Regions from separate parts of the Homo sapiens genome. Here all the other regions are linked to region 3. The links are contacts of gene promoters, found by promoter capture Hi-C in blood cells and fetal thymus (Javierre and others, 2016). All regions are on one chromosome and are shown on one strand. The core of a region is centred on a gene start or on the middle of the fragment in contact, and the rest is flanking DNA. Distances in the headings are between cores, read along the strand shown.

The links. The method cuts DNA at HindIII sites, captures the fragments that hold promoters and counts their contacts. A CHiCAGO score of 5 or more calls a contact.
Region 1: a fragment that was not itself captured here is called in contact with the fragment with the promoter of FAM131B in region 3 in 7 of 17 cell types (M0 macrophages, neutrophils, activated CD4 T cells and 4 more); the score reaches 7.6 in M0 macrophages.
Region 2: a contact is called between a fragment that was not itself captured here and the fragment with the promoter of FAM131B in region 3, in 1 of 17 cell types (neutrophils). The highest score is 7.8, in neutrophils.
Region 4: a contact is called between a fragment that was not itself captured here and the fragment with the promoter of FAM131B in region 3, in 6 of 17 cell types (neutrophils, monocytes, M0 macrophages and 3 more). The highest score is 9.7, in neutrophils.
Region 5: a fragment that was not itself captured here is called in contact with the fragment with the promoter of FAM131B in region 3 in 1 of 17 cell types (neutrophils); the score reaches 6.8 in neutrophils.
Region 6: a fragment that was not itself captured here is called in contact with the fragment with the promoter of FAM131B in region 3 in 1 of 17 cell types (neutrophils); the score reaches 5.2 in neutrophils.
Region 7: a contact is called between a fragment that was not itself captured here and the fragment with the promoter of FAM131B in region 3, in 1 of 17 cell types (neutrophils). The highest score is 5.9, in neutrophils.

The regions. Positions count from the first base shown.
Region 1 is chr7:142,858,307-142,861,393 of GRCh38, forward strand. EPHB6 (EPH receptor B6) reads left to right here. Exons shown (of 20, transcript NM_004445.6): 2 at 2,746-2,880. Among named protein-coding and RNA genes, the nearest start is that of EPHB6, 4.8 kb to the left of the region's middle. The HindIII fragment of the contact is 701 bases long and covers 1,178-1,878 here.
Region 2 is chr7:142,911,248-142,914,508 of GRCh38, forward strand. TRPV5 (transient receptor potential cation channel subfamily V member 5) reads right to left here. Exons shown (of 15, transcript NM_019841.7): 13 at 1,235-1,503. Among named protein-coding and RNA genes, the nearest start is that of TRPV5, 21 kb to the right of the region's middle. The HindIII fragment of the contact is 4,505 bases long and covers 1-3,261 here.
Region 3 is chr7:143,361,447-143,364,654 of GRCh38, forward strand. FAM131B (family with sequence similarity 131 member B) reads right to left here and starts at 1,267. Exons shown (of 7, transcript NM_001031690.3): 1 at 1,130-1,267. The coding sequence starts at 1,157. It overlaps FAM131B-AS1 (FAM131B antisense RNA 1), which reads left to right and starts at 260. Exons shown (of 3, transcript NR_183342.1): 1 at 260-611; 2 at 1,744-1,811; 3 at 2,455-2,819. The HindIII fragment of the contact is 5,612 bases long and covers 1-3,208 here.
Region 4 is chr7:142,999,127-143,002,391 of GRCh38, forward strand. No RefSeq gene overlaps it. Among named protein-coding and RNA genes, the nearest start is that of OR9A2, 26 kb to the right of the region's middle. The HindIII fragment of the contact is 1,734 bases long and covers 884-2,617 here.
Region 5 is chr7:142,931,351-142,934,590 of GRCh38, forward strand. TRPV5 (transient receptor potential cation channel subfamily V member 5) reads right to left here and starts at 2,396. Exons shown (of 15, transcript NM_019841.7): 1 at 1,982-2,396. The coding sequence starts at 2,109. The HindIII fragment of the contact is 1,328 bases long and covers 675-2,002 here.
Region 6 is chr7:142,890,721-142,893,773 of GRCh38, forward strand. No RefSeq gene overlaps it. Among named protein-coding and RNA genes, the nearest start is that of TRPV6, 6.5 kb to the left of the region's middle. The HindIII fragment of the contact is 333 bases long and covers 1,569-1,901 here.
Region 7 is chr7:143,016,090-143,019,100 of GRCh38, forward strand. No RefSeq gene overlaps it. Among named protein-coding and RNA genes, the nearest start is that of OR9A2, 9.5 kb to the right of the region's middle. The HindIII fragment of the contact is 1,550 bases long and covers 750-2,299 here.

The DNA of each region.
Region 1 (3,087 bases), core at 278-2,777, 500 kb before region 3:
CTATATTAAGTAAGCTTGATTTGCTCATGAAAATATCATATTTAGCATTTAATTGGAGCACGATTAATTTTTTAAATTCTTACCAATTTACCAATTTAATTTACTTTTAAGTCATTCTTTTTTTTTTTTTTTTTTTTTTTTTTTTTTGAGACAGCATCTTGCTCTGTCGCCGAGGCTGGAGTGCAGTGGCACGATCTCGGCTCACTGCAAGCTCTGCCTCCCGGGTTCACGCCATTCTCCTGCCTCAGCCTCCCCAGCAGCTGGGACTACAGGCACACGCCACCACGCCCAGCTAATTTTTTTTTTTTTTTTTGTATTTTTAGTAGAAACGGGGTTTCACCGTGTTAGCCAGGACGGTCTCGATCTCCTGATCTTGTGATCCGCCCACCTTGGCCTCCCAAAGTGAAATATTTCATTTTTATAGCAACATAACTCGTAAGCTATGCTTTGTAACCTATGATTCTACAAATCTTTACTTTTTGCCAGTTTCTGAAAACAAAACACAACCTTGATACCTAAGAAACAGTCTTATTTTTGTAAACCAAAGAGATGTAGCAGGCTTGTGGATCTATTGTCTCTACTGTATCAAAAAGATATTAAGTGATATATCTATAAAAGAAGCTGAGAACATATTATAAAGTCATAGACTGCAATTTTTGTTACCTAAAACTTTGTCTAATCCGTCTCGTTTTCTCCACCATTGTTTTATGTTCACATTTCTGCTGCTTCTGGTTTTATATTTTTAAAACCTTATACACATCTGAAATGTGAATATTTTTCTAAAGGAGATAAGTTCTTTTGCACATTCTTGTGTTAGAGAATTTCTAAATACTGACCAGTTCCTTTTGTAAGTCAGAGGAGAGAGGACTCTCAAGCAGGCTGTGAGAGAGGAGCAAGGGGCCTGGCTTTGCAGAGGCTGCTTCCCATCTCTGTGGCAGGAGAAATGTACTGGCCTGTCCCTGGGATGCTCTCCTGGACCAAATGCAGAAGATGCTCCATGCCCACAACCATTGAAGACACCTTTGAAAAATCAAGTTCTGAGTCCTGCTTACTTAGCATTCCAGGCATGTGGAGCAGCCGTGTTCTTGTCACTTATGTTTCTGCCTTTGAAATTGGCTTCAAAAGAATCTGCAGTGGTATGAATTTGCTGACAGCAATTTATTCCATATCTTAATAAAGCTTCCTTTTTCTTTATTTGGATTCCTGCAACAGGGGTACACCCATATTCTTTTTATATATTAAAATTAAAAGTCTTGAATTTATCTGGTTTGTTTGATAAGTAAGAACTCACCTAACTTCCTAGTCTGACTCAGCAACAATTTTTTTTTTCTGAAAAAATGTATTTATAACCTTCAGTCATCTGGATCTGAATCTAAAAGAGGTCCTCATCAAACATTAGAAGTATCCTTCTGGGTACTTTAAGATCCTCAACCATTTCTTTTTAATGAATATCTTTGTTCTTAGTAAAATTTCAAAAAATTGCTGAAGTGGTCATCCACAGGCAGTGTCTCCATTTTCTTCTTTTCTTTATGCTGTTTCTTGATGGCAGAAGCTGAGTGGCCTTAACATCCATGTTTCATAATTGCTTTTGCTCTTTTCTGGATCTTCTGGAGGGAGGCCAGCTTCGTGTTGTCATTACGAGGCATGCTAAGGCTATGCAAGCACGCCCTATTGCAACCACAAGTGACTGTGTTCCTTGTAGTTCGGGTCATCAAAGCAAATATCTTGCTATTCATCTTCCAGAGTGTTCCATATTGGACAGCTGATACTATCTGCAGCGCATCTTTTCTATCTTGCTTGGCTGTCTTTCAAAATAATTCATTGAAATATTTCCAAAATATTTATTGTTCCTTCTTCATGATTATTTGCCTAGTTGTAAGCTTGAGAAGACACAGGGCTTACTGTTTCTTCTTTGTACAGATTACAGAATCCATCCATGTTCTGAGTGAAAGAAAGAGACTATTTTAAAGAATAACTTCTAGGCAAATGGTAAAATAGCCTTCATTGTTTAAAAACCTGCTGCTGGCATTTTCTTTCCCTGATAACAGTATTTCTAAGGACTCCGTGACTCTGGTTTGCTTCAGTGTGTCAAGCACGTCTCCAAATTAAGCCATTGAGAGTTTGGAGGGGATGCACTTACAACATGAATTACTTTAGGATATTTATTAAACAGCCACTGGTGACGGTGCCAAGGTTACAGAATTTAATAGCTATGCCTGCTTTTTACTTCATGATCTCCCCGTTCCTCTCCAAAGCATTTATTTCATCTGTGAAGGATCCTAGTAACATTTCAGACATTTTTGCAAAGAACATTACTTAAGAGCAATTTGCCATATGGAAATGCTCCTTACTTGTCTCCATAGGCTGTAAATTGAACTCTCTATTTCACAAATAGGGTTAAAGATGTATAAAAGGTGAGTTTCAGGGGCTAGTTGGCAGGTGCCCACTCTACATCAGCCCACGCGTATGTAGAAATGGTGTATTTCCATGATAACTTCATGGACAGCACAGCCCGCAGTGCCAGAAAAAAATTAGTAGGAATCAAATTATGATTTTCATATTTGTTGCAATTAAAGTTTCATAGTTTGATTTTTGTTTTATGATAGCTTTCAACAATCCCAAGGCCATATATATCCAGGAAAAACAAATCACAACTTCTCTTCTAATTGGCTTTTTTTTTGTTTTCCTCTCAGTTCTATGTCTTTTGAGCAATCTGGGCAACATGTCTCTTTTTTTTCTTCACAGAAATAAAGGGATTATAGTCCACCCAATTCACAGACTTCTGAGACTCAGACACGAGGAGAGATAGAGAACCGCCAATCTCTAAATCAACAAGCAAAGGAGGTGCCAAGCCTGTTTGTCTTCATTGTGACACTGGAGGTAGCTATTCCTTCTGTTCATTTGCTCGTGAGCTTAGTGGTGTACCTTCTGAAGGCACAGGAAGGTTTTATATAAGAGGTAGCTTACTACATAGTTCTGAGAAGCCATTATGAGGATATGAACACTGTTTTGATTAACTTTACTAAACAGTTATTATCCTATAGTTTTAAAGAAAATTTTAATCAATGATTTAGTTGAAAGAATACA
Region 2 (3,261 bases), core at 111-2,610, 450 kb before region 3:
ATGTATAAGATGTGGATCTGCATTCTGGCCAGATACCTCTAAAGTTAGTTTAATTCTCTAAACTTCCCATTTATGAGGACTAACACATCCTCTTCCCCCTGTTTAAAAATCTGCAAGTCTGTTTGAGTTTGGTTTTCTGTCCCTGTAGCCAAGAGTCCTAATTGCTACTAACCTTGACCTTCATCCTTTTCCCTCCTTCCTTTTAACTACCTAGTTCTTGCTCACCTTTGGGTTCTCATCTTAAATGTTGCTCCCTCAGGAAAGCATGTCTTCACTTCCCAGTCCGATTCCTCTGTTGTATCCTCCTCTTAGCACCTTACATTCTCTATAGCACTTTTGCTGCTGTAATTTTACAGCTTTTTGTGAAGTCATTCACTTCATGCCCGTCTTTCCAACTAAACCGTCAGCTCCATGAGGGCACATATGGTGTCTGTTGTGTTTATGCTCATGTCCCTAGCTCCTAGGCATTTGTCAACACATAGCAGGGTCTAAATGATCATCATTAAATGAATGAAAAGTCTAAGGGAAAAATGATGGCTATATTCAAATATTTGAATGGTGCTTATATGGAAGAATGTGTTCTGTGATATATGAGAGGGAAAGACTGGCGCCAAAGAATGAAATTTTAAGAAGATAGGTTTTAGCTCAATGCGACATAAATGTCTAATAACAAAATCTTTAAAAATATGGGAAAACTCCCTTCCTCCCAACCTCTACCTGAATTTGCAAGATAATAAGGTACTAATCAGCATTAGAGAAGATATTGAATGACATTCTGACCAATAAATGATTATTATGTTAAGTAGGAGGTCAACTTGAGGGCCATTGAGGGTCACTTCTAATTCTAATATTTATCAGTCTATGGTGATATAAAGAAAAGATCATAGAGAAACAGGGATTTACAGAAGCAAATAGAAGATAAGATCCAAATTGAAAACTGGAATATACCAGAACAAGGTCACTTCTAGTTCCCACTGGACTCAAGGATCAATCCTAGGTCTACTTTTCCCCTGTGAGCAACAACCCCACCTCTTGCCACTATCGTCCATTTAATCCTCCTTCTGTCCCTTCCATTTATCCACATGTACCTCAGGTTTACACAAACCTCTTCTGAGGTGACAGCCTCACTGGGTTTTTCTGTGACTCTTTTAAGAATGATCCACCATAACATTTTCCACTTTGATTTTTCTCTCCAACCCCTGCTTCTTAGCAAGACTAACACAAATAAACTCACCTGGGCCCTCCAGAGCTCATCCCTCTCCTGGGCCACCCTCCAGTGGGTGTCGCCCATCATGGCGATGAACAAGTTGAGCATGAGCAGTGTGGCAATGATGGTGAAGGCGAAGTTGACAATGCTGAACATGAAGGGCAAGTCCACGTCGTAGTTGGCAGGTGCATCAATAACAGTGAGAAAAAGCTCAAAGGTGGTGAACAGTGCCATGGGGTAGTCATAGAATTGCCCCAGACTGGTTGGGTCCTCTGTCTGGAAAATGATATAGAACGCTGCTCCGCCCAGGAAGAGGACATGGAGATGGGATAATGGAGTTATCACAATAAGCATGGACATGGTTAGCACTTATTCTATCTCTGATCTATCTATCTATCTATCTATCTATCTATCTATCTATCTATCTAAATACACTTGCACACATGCACAGATAATTACATACTAATAAATGTAGTTTCCTGTGGAACTGTCTAACCCTAAGATGTCCTATGATTAAGTTCACCACTCTGGGTAATGGTCATGGTAATAGTCATTTAACAACAACAAAATTGTGTGTGCAGCGTGTGTGTTTGTATGGATAATGGATAATAGGTCACCTAACTGGTTTTTGCATTTTAGAAAACCAAATACTTAAAAGGCAAGTTATTACAAGAATGTATGGAATCCTCAACAATTTTTAAAGAACAGAACACATGAACAGGCTAAAAGAAGAGCCCCTTTTTTAATCTTGATGGCCTCTAGATAACCCTCCATCACTCTGACCTTCCCTGAGTGAACCTGAACCAACATAGGAAACGGATTCCTGCTTAGGGTGGAGCCTACTGGATAGCAGTGAGCGTAAGGGAACTTCAGGACAGCGCTGGACTGCTTGAAAGCCTCCTCACTGCATAGGGAGCTGAAGCACATTCTGAGAGCAGAAACAGGGTCTATGACAAAGCATTGCCTCCTTATTTATTTAAGAGAAAAGCAAGTGCAATGGCCAAGAAGTGAACATTTAGAGAGTTCTGGATAGAGGACATCTACAGAAAGCCACTCTGGGACCATCACCTCATTTTGTAATCTGTGTTATGTATAGATGTAGATGGCCAGGGAGTGGGAGGAAAGGGTACATAAGGGCTTGGGGTGGAAAACTCCAAACAGGCAGAACGCCATGGTTTTACTCTTTCACATTTCAGATTTTGGTGGGGGTTTTGTTGTTGTTGTTTTGTTTTGTTTGTTTTTTGTTTTGGTCTGTTGTTTTGTGGGAATCCCCATTGAACGGGAAATCCCTGAGGACAGTAATAGAGTCCTCTGCACTGAGTCATTGCTTTTTAGAGATGGGGGGATCCTTCTAGTGCCTCTTCTTGTCTAATAGATGGTCAGTTGCAGACACTGAGGACTGAATTTGAGCTACTGGCCTTTTGCTTTTCAGACCTGGGCCTTCCTCTTTCTGCCCCTCCCTAAGGACTTTCTTCTGCTCCTCCACCCACCCTCTCCTTCCCTCTGGCTGTTTCCACCTGCCTGTGTTTTCCTGCTGTGCCGTTCCTTTCTTTTGCTCCCTGGCACTTTCACTGGCTGTGCCTTGACTGGGTGCCTGTGTGTTCCTGTTCTCCCAGTCTCTCTTCACAACTCTTCTTTTTTGTTTTCTCTGTCATCTTCAAACTGTCCAAGCTGTTTTTCTGCACCTCCTTTTTCTAATTCTTTCATATTTTTCTCAGCTTTAAATGACCACATATAGAAAAAAAGCAAGTTATATGTTGTTGAGTGCTTTAGGTTTCCTCTTCTGAATTGTAAACATAGGAGAGTTAAGCATGGCACTATCTCTGTTTGTCCACATGGTTTTCTGAGATCCATGACTGGCCAGTCTTTCCTGTTTAATGCCCTGTTCTCACCAAAAGTCTTTTCCTGTCTCTCCTTTAAAGATCTTGCAAGGCAGTTAGTGAACATAAATCTTATTGGCCCTGAACACATGGCTTTACGTTCCAGGCCAACCTGAGTGGCCCCTGGTCCTATAAATATGGGTGTGCTTTTAGACTTACCTTCCAACAGGAAAA
Region 3 (3,208 bases), core at 17-2,516:
GCCGCGGAGAAGGGGTGAAAGCAGAGGAGGAGGGGGTATCCATGGAAATAAACCGGGTCTCAGGGAAATCAGGCTTCTGGAGAGTGAGTTTGTTTGTAATAATAATACGAATTATTCTCTCAGCCTGAGGTCACCGGGAGGTGTAGGCGGGAGAAATTGGGAGTTGGAAAGGGGAAGAATGGGGGAGGGGGTGGGAGAGGGCCGGATGAATTCGCTGAGCGGCGAGAGTGGAGTGGGTGCCTGGGTGGGGGTCAGGGGCGGTAGCCAGGCAGAAGCTGGAGGGAGAAGATGGATTAGGAGGCGCCTCTCTTCCCTCCCCGCGTCAAAGGTAAATAAAGAGCCGGCCCCGCCCCGCCGGCCCCCGCTGACAGGTGCAGGCGGGTCCCCGGCCGCCGAGGCAGGGCCGGCCCCACCCTCCCGGGCCGCGGGCTCCCGACCCCTCCCAGCGCCTCGAAGCCCCCATCTCCTCCCCGCGTCCCCCAGCCCCTTCCCTCCACCCGGCCCTGGCCCTGTCCCTCCGGGCGTGGAACCCGGGCTCATCCCGCCCCCGCCCCAGAGGGAAAACGCACGTGAACAAAGCGAATCGGAGGAGGCAGGAACGACAGTAAAAGGCAACGGAGAGGGAGAGAGAGATGGGGCAAAGCACCCGAGCCAGATGGAGGCGGCGGCGGGGGGTGGCGTGGGGGGCGTGCGAAAGAAACTCGGGGCTGGCGCGGAGGCCGAGGGTCCTTCGCGGGGGGCTGCTCCGGAGTGGGGGATGCGAGGAGGCGCTGGGGACGGCGGAGCAGAGGCGGATGGCCTGGAGGGGCAGGGATGAGGGGACCGAGCGTCGGGCCGAGAGGCAGAGGAGAGGAGGGCGATGGAGAGGATGGAGAGGACCGCGCCTGCGGGAGGGCGACGGGGAGAAGGAAGCGAGCCGAGCGGGATGGCAGCCCCGGAGGCGCAAGACGAGAGCGGGCAGGAAGGAGGGACAGAGGGACCGCGGGCGGACGGAAGGAAAGTGAAGGAGCTAGCAGGGCAAGGCGGGTGCGGAGCGGGGCGCCCGGAGGCGCGAGGAGAGGGATGGGGGAGGGGGTCGGAGGGCGGCCCGGGGGGCCCAGCCCTGCCCCCGCCCGGCCGCGGTACCCACCCACAGTCCGGGAGCCGATGCAGCCCATGGCTCCGGGGGCCGCAGAGCCGGGCCCTCACCGACTCGGGGCGCGCGCCGGGGGGAGCACCGGGAGCCGCGCCGCCGCCCCAGCCGCTCTGCAGCGCCGCGGCTGTCTCCGCTCGGCTCCGCTCCCCCCTCCCCTCTCCATCCCTCCCCACGGCAGCTCCGTCGCCGCCGCCGCCGCCGCCGCCGCCGCCGCCTGGCTCCCCCGCCCCGGCTCGGCTCGCCGCGGCCGGGGAGGGGGCGGCCCGGGGATTGGCTGCGCCCCGCGCCTCCCCGCCCCTGCTCCGGCCGTGCCGGGGCGCTCCCTCGGGGATCTGGGGCCGCCGTCGCCGCCCCCCTCCTCCCGCCCGTGCCAAGCCCCGCTCCCGGGGCTCTCTCCTGGAGAACCCCGGCTTGGGTTTCAGGAGCCGAGGCACGAACCCAGGGCCTACCCCGAGGTTCTGGTTGATGGATTTTGCGGGCCGGGGTCAGGGGATGCCCTGAGAGAAAGTGGGGTGGTGGTGAGAATAAAGCCAGGCCCAAGGGCCTTTGGCCACCAAATTCCGCAAACACTTGTTTTCCTCCTGGGGCCGCATCTGGGACACACACAGGAACGTGATTGGACACAGCTTTGGGCTCTGTTGTTTCGAGTGCGCTATTTTGTCCATCCAAACAGAAGGTGAAGTCTTTGCAAGTGAATCGTGTAGTCCACTTCTCTGTGCTCGCTGGACATTCAGGGGTGGGTGTGGGGATGTGCAGATAGTTGACCTCCAGGCCTGGTTGGGGATTGGAGAATATGAGGAGGACAGTTCATTCGCAGTAGACTAACAACAATGTCAGGACCCGAGGCTGGCTAGGAGACATCGTCTTGAATCCAGTTTAACTTTTCTGAGACGTGATCTTCTCGGACAAATGAAAGCAAGGCGGTCCCGAAGCAGCAAAGAGAGAGAAAGATTGGCCTCTGGCTAGTGGGACTGGGCCAGGTAGATACCTCAAGCCCCATGGGGAGGAGATGAAGGTCTAAGTTGCAAGGGTTAAATGAGCACTGTGGTTACAGCAGGTAAGAAGTGGAGTCCAGAAAAGATGCATGAGAAAGGGCAAGGAGACCCTTTTGTCTAAGGTGTACCCAGAAAGCCCAAAGTGTGAGAGAGTGGGCAGGTGGGCATTCACAGAAGCAAGTGCCCATCCAGGCTCTGACTGCACCTCGCCCACTTTTAGGTCTCTCCGAGGTTGCAGAGAGAGAAGGCAATGGGCCAGGGGTCCCTGGTGTGGGCTCCTAACAGGGAGGCTAAGTCTTATGGATGCAACTTTCTAACCTTTAGATTATGAATGGAGAGCTACATCCCATGGGGTGGCAGATGAAGATGTGCAAGAAGAAGACACTAACAACTGAATTGCAGATTGAGGAGATGAGATTATGGTGACAGAATCCATCTTCGGTGTATGTGCATGAAGAAATAAGCCAAATCTACATCTATAAAACCGCGGGAAGGAATGAGATAATAATCAGTTGCAGGTCTGCTTAGATTTTAATCGTTTAGTGTAGTTCGTGGCAGGGTCTGATACCCTATTTCAATAGTGGAGAGAATTAGAAAGCATTTTCTTTTTTCATATCTACTATTATTGGTTATATAAAAGAAGTATCAAATAGTTTCTGCTTTCATGGAATATACTGTCCAGTCGCAAAGGAAAGAAGATGGAGAGATGATTAAAAAAAAAAAAAAGAACAAACAGCTTCCATTATTCTAGCAATGCCCACACACCCCTATTGTTTGAGCAGAGAAAACGCTGACAGGGGACTGGCCAGGTAAGGAGGAACAGACCACGTGGCCATTATGCTCTTGCCTTCCCACCTGAAACTTCTGTCTCCTTATGGCTCTCCCTGAGTAATACATATATTTATATATGACTACGTATCTCTTACTGTGGTTCCAACTTGGATGCAAACCTCTCCCCTTGGTCTCCTTAACACAACTATATAAGGCTGCATTTATCCAAATGATTTAACATGAGGGATTCCAGGTCTTGGAGACTCAGTCCCATCTTGCATTCTGTCTTGAAGGTATTTCCAGTCCC
Region 4 (3,265 bases), core at 501-3,000, 360 kb before region 3:
TCGCATCCTCGTGTAAGTACATTTAGAAAAACAATTCCTGGAAATGGATAGCTGGGTCAAAGAGTATGCCAGCAATAGTCCTAATCACTCTGTTAAATGGTTAATCATTATGTTACCACCTCTTTTATTCTAACCTGTCCTAGATTAATGACTGCTACAATTCCTCTCATTTATTTGCTAAAACATATTACCCATTCTTTAAATTTTGACTGTGATTGTTGGAGTCATTCCACTGTAGAAAAGTTAGAAGTTTCTCCTGAGCTCTTATAAAGTTGTTTTCTTGTACAAGAATAATTTTCCTGACTCCCTTTTTGCATATCTACTGCCAATTTTTGATACTGATGTTTTCATTTGTGTTCAATAGAAAAAGAAATCTCTGACCAATTACTCTGGCATTTGGTGATATCTTCAGTTAAGCATTTAAAAATATACTCCAAAACACCACCAACCTGAAATGTGTTATTCCATTTTCCAGAGACTCTAAGTTTTAGACTTAATCATCAAAAGTTTTTATATTTTATTTAAATGTTAGGCATGAAAATCAGTCTTAATAGATTCTATTGAGCATACCTGAATGTCTTCTTGGTTTCTCAAGACGATCATTAGGATGCCACTGTCATATATACATGATCTCAGAGAAGGTTTGCTCCTGCACTAAATGAACAAAAATGTCTTAAGTCCTTTGGTCAGCTTTGTACAGTTGGTTTTTAATTTCTCTCAACATGTCTCTTGATTGAGAGCTAACACACTGCTTGTTGTTTTCAGTAGACCTGTCTTTTCTTATCTCCTTTCTATGAGTAAATCATTTTATCAAGCTTATTTCCAATAAATAAACAAACAGATAAAAGGGACTCTAACAGACTTCCTGTGAGTAAAGTGGCTAAGCTTTATGTGGTTCATGGACTTTGTAACATTTATTTTGTCTGCTTGCTGGTTTATTTTGCTATTTTCTGATTCCTAGCTATGTTCTAGAAAGACTACATAGTTGAGTTTTGGATTAATAAGATATATATGTTAATTATAACACTTAGAGAATCAGGATCATATAGTACCCCAAATACAGATGTTTTTAAAAGTGCCAGAATATCAAAAGAAGATATAACTATATTCAAATATTAAAGCATCAAAGCATAATATACTTCCATGGTTCAAAATTTTAAAGGATACTTTGAAACACTTTTCTATCTGATCCTCCTCCCTCAAGGCAACCAATGTTATCACTTTCTTCTGTGTCTTTACAGAGGTAATTTTAAGCATATACGTCTGCATAAGCAAATGCATACAAGCACATTTTCTTTTTGTACAAATGGTAGTATATCGAACATATGTCCTATGCAGTACAGATCATTGTATATTTATACATAAGACATTCTTGGTTCTTGTTTCCTTTTTTAATAACTCCAGATTATTCCACCAAATGGAATACATACATTATTTCCCTGTACACAATATCTAAATGACAATTTCTAGAAGAGGAATTGCTAGGCCAAAGCGTAAAAGCATTTGTCACTTTAATATATATTACATAATTGCCCTTCATGCAGGCTATTACATTTTACACTACCTATTTTCACGCAGTGTACTATAAAACTTTTTGACATTTGCCAGTTTAATAACTGAAAATAGTATCTTAATATGGCTTTAATTTTTATTGTTCTCCTTATGAATGAAGATGAAAATATTCTCACATGTGCTTATCTTTTGCCCATTTTTCTGCTGAGTAGTTTTATTTTTTTCTTATAGGAGCTTTTTACACATGATGCAAACTAACCTTTTGTGATATGAGTTGAAATTGTTTTCTGGTGTTTTCGTGTGTCTGTTTACCTTGGGGTAGTATTAACCATAGCAAATTTTTAAAAAATTCTTCATAAAGTCAATCTTCTATGACATCTGTGTTTTAAGTCATCCTAAGAAAGGTCTTACCCATTTTTATAAACATTCTTTTATTTCTTATGTTAAATCTATGTTTTTTTTTTACATTTAAATATTTGACCCATTTTAAACAGCCTGGTATGACATAGGCAGTAATGGAATTAACTTTTGTTTTTTAGGTAGCTGCTAGTTTGTTTGACCATTTATTGAATAATTCATTTTTTCCCAATGATAGTACTGTTTACATTATAGCTATATAGTCTGTTTTACAGATGTAGTTATTCCTCATTATGCTTCTATTTCAGAATGTTTTTGAAAATTTTTTGCTTGTTTATTTTTCCATAATAAAAAGTTTAATCTAAGCTGGGCACGATGGCTCACATGTGTAATCCCAGCTATTCAGGCGGCTGAGGTGGGAGGATCACTTGAGTCCAGCAGTTCAAGTCTGTAGTGAGCTATGATCATGCCACTACACTCCAGCCTGGCTGACAGAGCAAGACTCTGTCTCTAAAAATATAAATGAATGAAATAATGCATGAATAAAATGTAATCTGCTTCTCTAGATTTAAAAAATACTATTGATTTTTAAATTGTGATTGTATCATTTTTATGGATACACTTAGAGGAGAATTGATATCTTTGTATTGTTTACTCCACCTTTCCATTTGCTCAAATCTACTTTTGTGTCTTTCAGGAGCATTTTTTTAAATGTCAATCTAGTTTAAATGTAAATCTTTACTTGTTAAGCTTATTCCTAATAATGTTATATTTCTTTGCTTTTGCTTTTGTAAATGAGGTTCTTTCCTTCCATTATATTTTCTAACTTAATGTGTTTTATATGTGAAGTCTTTTGACTCTCAATATAAATTTTGTGCCCAGCCACATTGGTTTTTTACTTTATTTTGTTGAGATTTCCAGATAAACAAATTATTTAAAATTCATGTTAATCTTTTTTTCTCCTCCTTTTTAACATCTTGGCCCTGCATTTTTTTTCTCTTGTCTAATTGCATAGGCTAACATGCCAGAAATTTTAATTAGTTTACATAGAGATGCAGTACATAAATTTAAATTGAAGATCTGTCATTACATAAGACAAAGGGTATGTGTGTTATTATTTATTTTAGATTGGTCCATCCTCTCACCAGGAGCTCAGGCAGCTGTTAAACTCTGGAAAGAGGGCCTAAAAAAGATAGGGGTATGGATAATGGAAGCCCTGCATAAATTCTAAGCAAAGTGGCAGAAAGCACTTTCTAACCCACCATCCTGCCTCGAGGGAGGGCAAAGACTGATGTTAATGTCTTTGCTGACCTCTTCTGGCAAATCTGAAGTTAGCCAGAAGATGGAAGATTTGATTGGTTATTTTTTTCACTTCGATTTCATATGATCACAAAGT
Region 5 (3,240 bases), core at 89-2,588, 430 kb before region 3:
GAGAGTTGTGGGGTGAGTTACAGGGTGCCTCTTTCTTCTGCATTATACCCTTAGATGCAAAGGTCTAAACAGCTTGTTTATGTGGGTGTCTCAAGGCAAAACAGGTTGAGATACTCATTCTACAGGACCTCTGTTAATCTTTGCTTCTACCATACCCAGATTTGAACCCAGAAAGAGATAAAGCTGGAGCCTCTCCAACTAGACATATGTGTATTGGCCCCAAAGGCAAGCACATGGTGTAGGGGGAAGAACAGAAAGGACAGGCCGATGAGTGGCTCCTCTGAGGTCCCCACCTCCAAATCCCTCTCTTCCAATAGCCCCAGGAGCCAGGGCGAAAAAGTGTTTTTATTTTATTTATTTATTTTTTTTGAGACGAAGTCTCACTCTATTGCCCAGACTGGAGTGCAGTGGTGCGATCTCGGCTCACTGCAACTTCCGCCTCCTGGGTTCAAGTGATTCTCCTGCCTCAGCCTCCCGAGTAGCTGGGACTACAGGTGCCCACCACCATGCCTGACTAGTTTTTTTATTTTTGGTAGAGACGGGGTTTCAGCATGTTGGCCAGGCTGCTCTCGAACTCCTGACCTCAGGTGATCCACCCATCTCGGCCTCCCAAAGTGCTGGGATTACAGGTGTGAGCCACCACGCCCAGCCAAAGTGTTTTCATTTAAAGAAGAAGCTTTTAATCTAAAGGTGGGGCCTGGTTTTACCTGTTAAGGCAGTGCTCCTAGGAGGGGCCTTTGTGAGGAGTCAGTTCCCTGCCCCGTCTCACCCAGGGAATCAGTCCCAGGGAGCCTGGTGTCCCTGACCAGCCTAGAGTGGTCAGGGCTGAGATTGCAAATTCACCCCCATCCTGAGGCCACTGCACAAACAAAGTCCTTGCCTCCCTGGCCCTCTATCCCCACTGCCCCTCTGCAGAGGGTCCAAGTTGGGGCTGGAAGCTCACTTTCTCAGAGACCCAGGGGTCCCACTCTAAAGCAGGAAGGTGAGATTCCACTGGAGGTATTGGGTGGGGAGATGAGGAAGCAGAGGGCTTGACAGTATGAGGGCTCAGAGGTACTTGGGACCAGGCCCAGTGTAAACTGCAAATGCAGGACCCCTTGTTCAAAATTATTAAGAACTTGAAGATGAGGACAGCAGGGCATTGAACAAAGCACAGGAATCTTCTGGAGTACAGGGGAGCCCTTTGTGACTGCTAATGTCTGCTCAACAACCTCACCCCTCAGGCAGCTGTTGGGTGGGAGGCAAGCCCCAAAACACTTGGAGGAAGAAGCAGCCCACAGGATTCGTCCCTGCCCCAGCTGCTCTTCCTGGGACTGGACCTCAGGGCTAAGCCATGAAATGATTTACCTGCAGGTGTGCTAGCCCTGCCCGAACTAAGAGCTCTCCAGGAGCAGGCACAAGTCTCATTCAATCTTTATGTCATTGGGATCTAACACCCCTCTGCACACAGTAGACTCAATAAAAGGCAGATGGACTGAACTCAGAGCCCTCCAGTGTCACCTGAGCTGCCCTCCTCCACTGGTCAGCACCCAGTGTTACACCAAACAAAGCGCTCCTCCCCTTTCCCACACAGTCCACTTTCATTCAAATGAATGGCGTTTCCTTATCGTGCTTCCACCACCCACAGGAGTGCATCCCTTCTTCAGCAGCCTGCTTCTGCCTTCCCTCCCCATCCCACACAACCTGGCTTCTTCCCTCTGGTCCTTTTTGGTCCTTTCACTCCCCCTTGGCTGTCATTCTGCCTCTGTCCTTAGGTCTACCCTCAAGATTTTCCTGTGTGGCCCAAAGCCACATCCTCCACCGCCACTAAAAGGGGCCAGCTGGGATTCTGTAATTAGGTGGGCTGGAAGGAAAGGGTATGTCTGAGTGACTGGCACTGACAATACACTTCTAGGGTGCTGTATTCGGAAAGCAGGCCCAGGTGGGTCAGAGGGTCTGAGGATCACGGCGGTAGGGCCACGGATCGTTCTAGGAAGCCTACCTCTTCTGCTGCAGCATATGAAGCTTGTCCAGGTGCTGGTCCCAGTCTTGTTCTCTGACCAGAAAGGAGGGCAGAAGTTTCTGGAGTTGGCTCCCGGGCCCTTCTGCCTTAGGTAGAAAACCCCCCATGTCTTCTCCTTGCAGACACTGGCAGATTATAGAAATGTGGCGAAAGAAACAGGTCTAGGATGACAGCAACTGAGCAAGAGATGGGGTCTATTTGGGGCTGGGACTCTGAGTTTATCTCCTGTATGACTTGTGTATGCAGCATGCAGCTTGTAGGTGTGTGTGTGTGCATGCAGTATGTGGGTTGTGGGGTGTGCGTGTATGCACAGTGTGTGGCTGTGGTGTATGTGTGTGCATGCAGTGTGTGGTTGTGAGGTGGTGTGTGTGCATGCAGGTGCGCTGAGGGGACTGACCGCCCTGCCTGGGGAGAAGTGCTTTTCCTGGAGGGGGAGGAGCTCTTTGCAGAGCTGAGCCCCACAGCCACAGAACCACCCTGGGGAAGAAAAGGAGGAGGGGAAGGAAGGTTCCTAACTGTGGGCTGGGATGGCTGAGACCCGAGAAGCTAAGAGGTGGGGCAGAGGAATTTGGAAAAAGAAAAGGGATGGAAGGTGGGTCCACAAACAAGGTGCACAGTTAGTTGCATGAGGGAGAGGAGGAAATAAAGACTTCCAGCTCAAGAGTCAGGCAGAGCCTGGTTCAAATCCTGACTCTTATCCCTTACAGTTAGGTGAGCTTTCTGAGCCTCAGTTCCTAACCTGTGAAATTGGGGTAACGGCTATGCCGTCTCACGGGAGCATCTGTAAAGCATGTGTCACAAGTACTCAATCACTGCCGATCCTCCTTCCACAAGAGGGCTCAAGAGACCCCCGGGCTGCTTCTCAGAGCTTCCCATTTATGTGTCTTGTGGTCATCTCTGTCCTCAACCCTGTACCTCAAAGGAGGGTTTCTGACCCCCACTTCCCAGGCCAATCCCTCTCTGTGAGAAGTCCTCATGACCGTGACCGGCCAGCTTCCTGGAGCGTCGCCGAGCAGGCTCTGGTACCTGGGGACGCAGGTCAGAGGAGCCCCCAGGGGCCTCGAGTTATTATGGAGGTTGAACAGCAGAAACTGAGCAAAGGTAGACGACAAATAAATCGTGATTCCATGTTTGGGACTCTTTCCAGGAATGAAACACCAGGAGGAATAAGTAATGTTGCACTATTTTATATATTTTATATTATATTTTATATATTAAGTAGTTTCCCTTATCCACAG
Region 6 (3,053 bases), core at 485-2,984, 470 kb before region 3:
CACACATGCACAGGCACACACACCCCTGCAGACACACACACATCTGCAGACACATACACATGCACACGCACACACACACCTGCAGACACACACACATGCAGACACACACACATGCAGACACACACACATGCACATGTACACACCACATATACACACATCAACATACACACATACACCCCATACCACACACACACACACAACCACCACACACACATGCACACCACATACTACACAGCCCACACACACCACACCCACATGCAGCACACACACAGGCAGCACACACCACCCATACCACACATACACACCACTTACATACCACACACACACAACCACCACACACACATGCACAGCAGACACCATGCAACCCCCACACAAAGCACACACATGCAGCACACACCTACCACACACACACCACATACCGCACATACTACATACCACACACACACCACACACACATGCGTCACACACCACACACATTGCACACACACCATATACCACACACATCATGCACACACACTACAGACACCGCACACACACACACACACACACACACACCCTACCCCCTACACCTCCCACCCCAGGGATGGGGGCGCGGTACGCTGCTGCGGTGCCTGACTGGAGGTATCTGACTGTCGCGCTGGCTCTGCAGTTCCCTGGGAAGCACTTTGTTCTGAAACTCTCCAATGTCCTTTTGTACTCAAACATCCAGCGCATCTGAAGAAATATGCTTCACCCACGGTCCCAATGCACACGAAGTCACTTCAACTTTCATAGGTCAAGAGGTCTAATTTATTGCAGAACTGCCATGCACCTTTCCCTAGAAAGTGACTTTAGTCCCGGATCCCTTTTCTCATCCCAATCACTCGTTGTAGCTCCATCCCTGGGGCTTCAAGCCCTCATTTCCTACCTCCCAGTCCTTGGCCCCACGGAGCCTCCGCGCCCAAGGAGCTTCACACTCCACACGCTTCCTTAGCAAGATCTGGGGGCAAGATCCAAGAGCAGGGTGGTTGAAGGGCTGAGTTGGAGATGAAAATAGGGCACAGGGAGGCAGAGGTGATGAGCAGCCACACCATGCAGCCAGTTTTACCATCTAGATATGCATGTGCACGTTATTTGACATAAATGTATGCATGGTGTATTTTGTGTCAAAATGAATCAATACATGACAGTGATGTTCCAGAGCAATTGTGTGTGTGTGCACGCAGGTGCCTGTTTTCCAGCATCTTCCCAGCAGTCTATAGATTTCAAGACCCACAGGCATTCAGTCCTCCTGGGCCCCTACCCCTGTGTAGAATGCACCCAAAGGGCATACGTGGGCATCTGTATGGCCACCGTCCCCTCTTCTCCATTTCTCCCCACTGTCTGCCAGTTCTCACCCCTCTCCTCTCCCACTCCCCTCCTCAGTGGAAGGTGGGTCCAACCTTGGGAGTGCTCATGTAGTTTACAGCCCCTCCATCACCCTCTCAATGAGTTTGAGTTCCCCAGCCAGAAGATGTCAGGGGAAGGGCTGAGTGCTGATCTGGGGAGAATGGGTACTGACCCTCTTGGGTTTGTGAGAGGAGGCCTGAAGCTTTGGAGGAAGCCCATATGCCCCACCTGCTCTGCCCAGCTGCAGCTAGAATCCCCCTGCCCCCTGCATGGGTCCCCTGACATCTGGTACCCGCAGGAGGATGCCAAGCTCTTCAGTCTTGCCCTGGGCCCAGCCTCTGGTCCTTCTGGCCAAGTTTCCCCCAAGCCTCTTTTTTCTGCCCCTCATCTTTTTCTCTCTTCCTCATGAGACCCCAAGTTCTCCTCCCTGTGAGAACTGGACCCCAATCCTCTTCACTCTACCATACCTGGCCCCATCTCTTCTCTTGCAGGCACAAAAGACAAACAAGAAGAGAGGCTGCAGCCCTTTGGGAAGCTTTACAAGTAGGCTAAGTGTGCCTTGCAGCGGATCGGCTTTCTGGGAGAAGTAAAATGGAAAGAGCAATTGATCTGTAATAAAGACAGCTGCATTCTAACCCCAGCTGACCAGAAATCACTTGGTGTCCTTGGCCAAGTCACTTACATTTTCATTTCCTGATCTACAAAAATAAGGACTCCAGATATTGAGTGCCCCTGTTCCCTTTTCCATTCTCTGCTATCCCAGGTAGCCCCCCTCAGCTTCCAGCTATAGGCAGGATGGAGCTCAAAGCTTCATTGTGTCAGAAAGGGCTCATCTCTCAGGTTAAGCCTGACTGTCTTTGTCTCTGAGTTACACAGGAAGGAGAGAGCAGGCCGCAGGCAGAACATGAAGACACAAAGCCTCTGATTCTCCTCTGACCTTCCGAATGACAGGATTCTGTGGTCCAAGTAGCTCTGGCTGAAGAGAGGATGAAGCTCCTGAACCATGGTGATTCTTGGAGCTCTGGAAAGCCACAGATATGGAGGGGACAACGTGCGTGTTCCCTCTGACAAGGCGGGAGTGGGCTGGCTCCCCAATCCAGGGCAGTGTCCCCAGACTCTGGACTCTAGGTCACCAACAGTTTTCACTCCATGAGAACCTGGCTGTTGCCTCTTAGCCAGAGAGTGGGGAAAGGAGGGTATGTGGGGGCCACTAAGCCCAGAGTAAACAGCATTATTTGGGGCTCAGAAGACAGGAACAAGCCTTTATCCCAAAGCCCATCATGGCTGTTAAAAATTCAAACCCAAAGCAGAATTCTTTTCCAGAAGCATGCAGTCTGCTCACCATAGCCTTCTGGGCAGCAGGCCTGCAGGGGTGGCATTTGATTGCCAATCTTCCCCTGGTTGTCCCCACCTGCACTTCTTATTCTTCTCTCTTCAACCAACAAACTCAGTGAAAGGGCAGACAGTGAGAAGAACTCTATTGAATTCTATTTAAGGCAAGCAGTCACCCAAACACCCCACCACCTCCTTAAAAAAAAAAAAAAAGCAAAATGCCAGACTTGGTTAAGAGTGGAGGATGGTTTAACATGTACAGACGGCCGGGCGCGGTGGCTCACGCCTGTAATCCCAGCACTTTGGGAGGCCGAGGCGGGCGGATCACGAGGTCAGGAGATCGAGACCATCCC
Region 7 (3,011 bases), core at 275-2,774, 350 kb before region 3:
AGAACAACATCAAAAACAGCTGTGATAACACTGTGAAGATTTCAAAATATCTCACAAATTTAAAGTATTCTACTGGTTATTGTTTCTGTGTTAAACCCAATGTGTATACCCAATCTAAATACCCTGAGCCCAAGATAACAGCAATGCATGACTAAAGGAATGTGTAGCATATGGTTCACTAAAGACCACCAAACATCTCGACCTCCCAACCAGATTAACTGAACCCCTCAGACTTCAAGCTCAACCGAAGAAGAGGTTTGTTCATGTCCAGATTTTAAGTGTTTTTCTTAAATAACTGTTTTCACAATTATCCTTGTTTATCTGGCCAGACAGTCTGCAGAGCTTCCCTGTCAATCATAGTTGCTTTAAATCTGCTCACCAATAGTTACAATGTCTGGATCAGCTCTGCATTGAGTTCTGTTGTTTTTTTCTCTTGAGAATGAATTGTTTCCTTGTCTCAAATTTTTTTAAAAAAGGCTGTAAATTGTATGTAGAACAGCTGAAAAACAATCCATTTTCAAGAGTAAAAAACAATGGAACTCAATGCAGAGCTGATCCAGACATTGGAATGATCGGTGAGTAGCTTTAACACAACTATGATTGACAAGGAAGCTCTGCAGACTGCCAGGCCAGTTAAACAAGCATAATTGGTGAAAAAAAGCATTTAAGAAAAGCACTTCAAGTCTCTGGAAATTGTACTGAGAGCATACAGCAAACAAAGAAAACATTTACTTAAGAAAATCTATCAAAGCTTGGTCAGAAGAGTGAGAGTCTATGATATTTGAACTACAACCCACTACCTTCCTCCCACCTCCCAGCTCATTACGATAGGAAATCCACTCCAGGCACGTGCAGCCAAGAGCACTGGGCTTCTTTACTATCAGCTCCCAGTCAAGGGCTCTGGTATCTTCCCAGAAGGGGTAGGTAGCCAAGCATTGCTCATCCCTCTCTTTTCCATGTACACATTGCAGAAATTAATTTCCAGGAGAGGAAAGACGAGAGGTCAGAGACTTCCTGCTATTACCCAGTCCTCACTCATAGGGCAGGGGACCTGGCTCGAGAGAAGCATGCTGAGGATGCTAGGATCCCACTCATCCTCACTCACAGAGTAGAAGCTCTACACCAGAAAAGGCAAAGCAGGAAGTGCAAAGCTGCTACCCCTGTCTGCCACCCTGAAACTAAAGCAGAGTTGTCACTTAGTGAGAGCTGCACCACCATCCTCACCCCCAGCTCAAGAGCTATGGCTCAGATATTTTGCTCAGGGGAAGAGCCAGGCCATAAAACAGAAAGCTCTGAAAGAATTCACTTTGTTTGAAAGAGAGGGTAGGAAAGTTCAAGTCCAACGAAACTCTCAAAAACAATGAAGGTTTTAGTGGAAGGCAAAGAAGAAGGCTGATACATTCATGAGAGGTAAGAAATAAATTATAGACCAGATAGATTAACTGGGAGACCCTGAGAAAGAGAGAGCTAAGAAATCTGACCTCAAAGCCACTGCTATAAAGGAATCCAAACTTAATTGTATCAGACTATGGAACAATTTACAACCCAGGCATTATCAAAAATAATAGGACCATCAGCTGGCAATTAGTGGAGCCTAACAATTGTGTGTGATCAGTGTGACAGTCAAAGAATCCCTATTAAAATCACTATTACTTCAGGATCTGCATACATAACCAAGACTGCACCCTCTAAGAGCAATGCTAGAGAGTACACACAGCCAGGGAAATAGTCATGTATCACTTAATGGCGGGAATACATTTTGAGAAATGCATTGTTTAGTGATTTTGTCATTGTATGAAAATCATGAAATGTACTTCAACAAACCTAGATGGTACAGGCTAGATGGTATAGCCTAGTGCTCTTAGGCTACAAACCTGTACAGCATATTACTATACTGAATACTCTAGGCAATTGTGACAGTGGCAAGCATTTCTGTATCTCAACATAGAAAATATATGTTAAAAATACAGTATAAAAGATAAAAAATAGTACACTTACCATAAACAGAGCGTGCAGGACTAGAAGCTGTTCTGGGTGAGTCAGTGAGAAATGATAGGTAAATGTGTTGACCTGGGGCATTGCTGTACACTGCCTGCTGTAGACTTCATAAACACTGTGCACTTAAACAACACTACAGTTTCTTTCTGAAATAATAAATAAACCTCAGCATATTGTAACTTTTTTACTCTATAAACTTTTTTTAACTTTTGGACTCTTTTATAATAACACTTAGCTTAAAACACAAACACATTTTACAGCTGTACAAAAATACTTTCTTTCTTTAGATCCTTATTTTATAAGCTTTTTTCTATTCTTAATTTATTTTTTACTTTTTAAACTTAAAAAAGAAAAACGAAGACACAAACACACACATTAGCCTAGGCCTACAAATGGTCATGATCATCAGTGTCACTGTCTTCTACCTCCACATCTTGTCCCAATGGAAAGTAGTCAGTGGCAATAAAAAGCATAGAGCTGTCATTTCCTATGATAACAGTGCCTTCTTCTGGCATAACCTCTTGAAGGATCTGTCTGGGACTGTTTTATAGTTAACACCTTTTTTGTAAGTAGAATGAGTATATTTTAAAATAATGATAAAAAGCATAGTATAGTAAATACATAAATTAGTAAAATTAGTATTATTGCCAAGTATTATGTACTGTGCTATACTTCTAACTCTATGTGCTATACTTTTATACAACCACAGCATGGTATGCTTGTTTGTTTATACCAACATCACCACAAACACATGAGAAACGTGATGTGCTATGATGTTACAACAGCTACCATGTCATTAGGTGATAGGAGTTGTTCAGCTCCATTATAATCTTATAGAACCACCATCTTACATGCAGTCCATCATTGACTGATATATTGTTATATAGTGCATGACTATAAACAAATTGATAACCAAATTACAATAATAATCCCCTGGAAGTGAGATAACAGTATCCATAGTGATACAATATAATATCTAAAATGTGTAGTTTTCAACAAAAAATTACAAGATA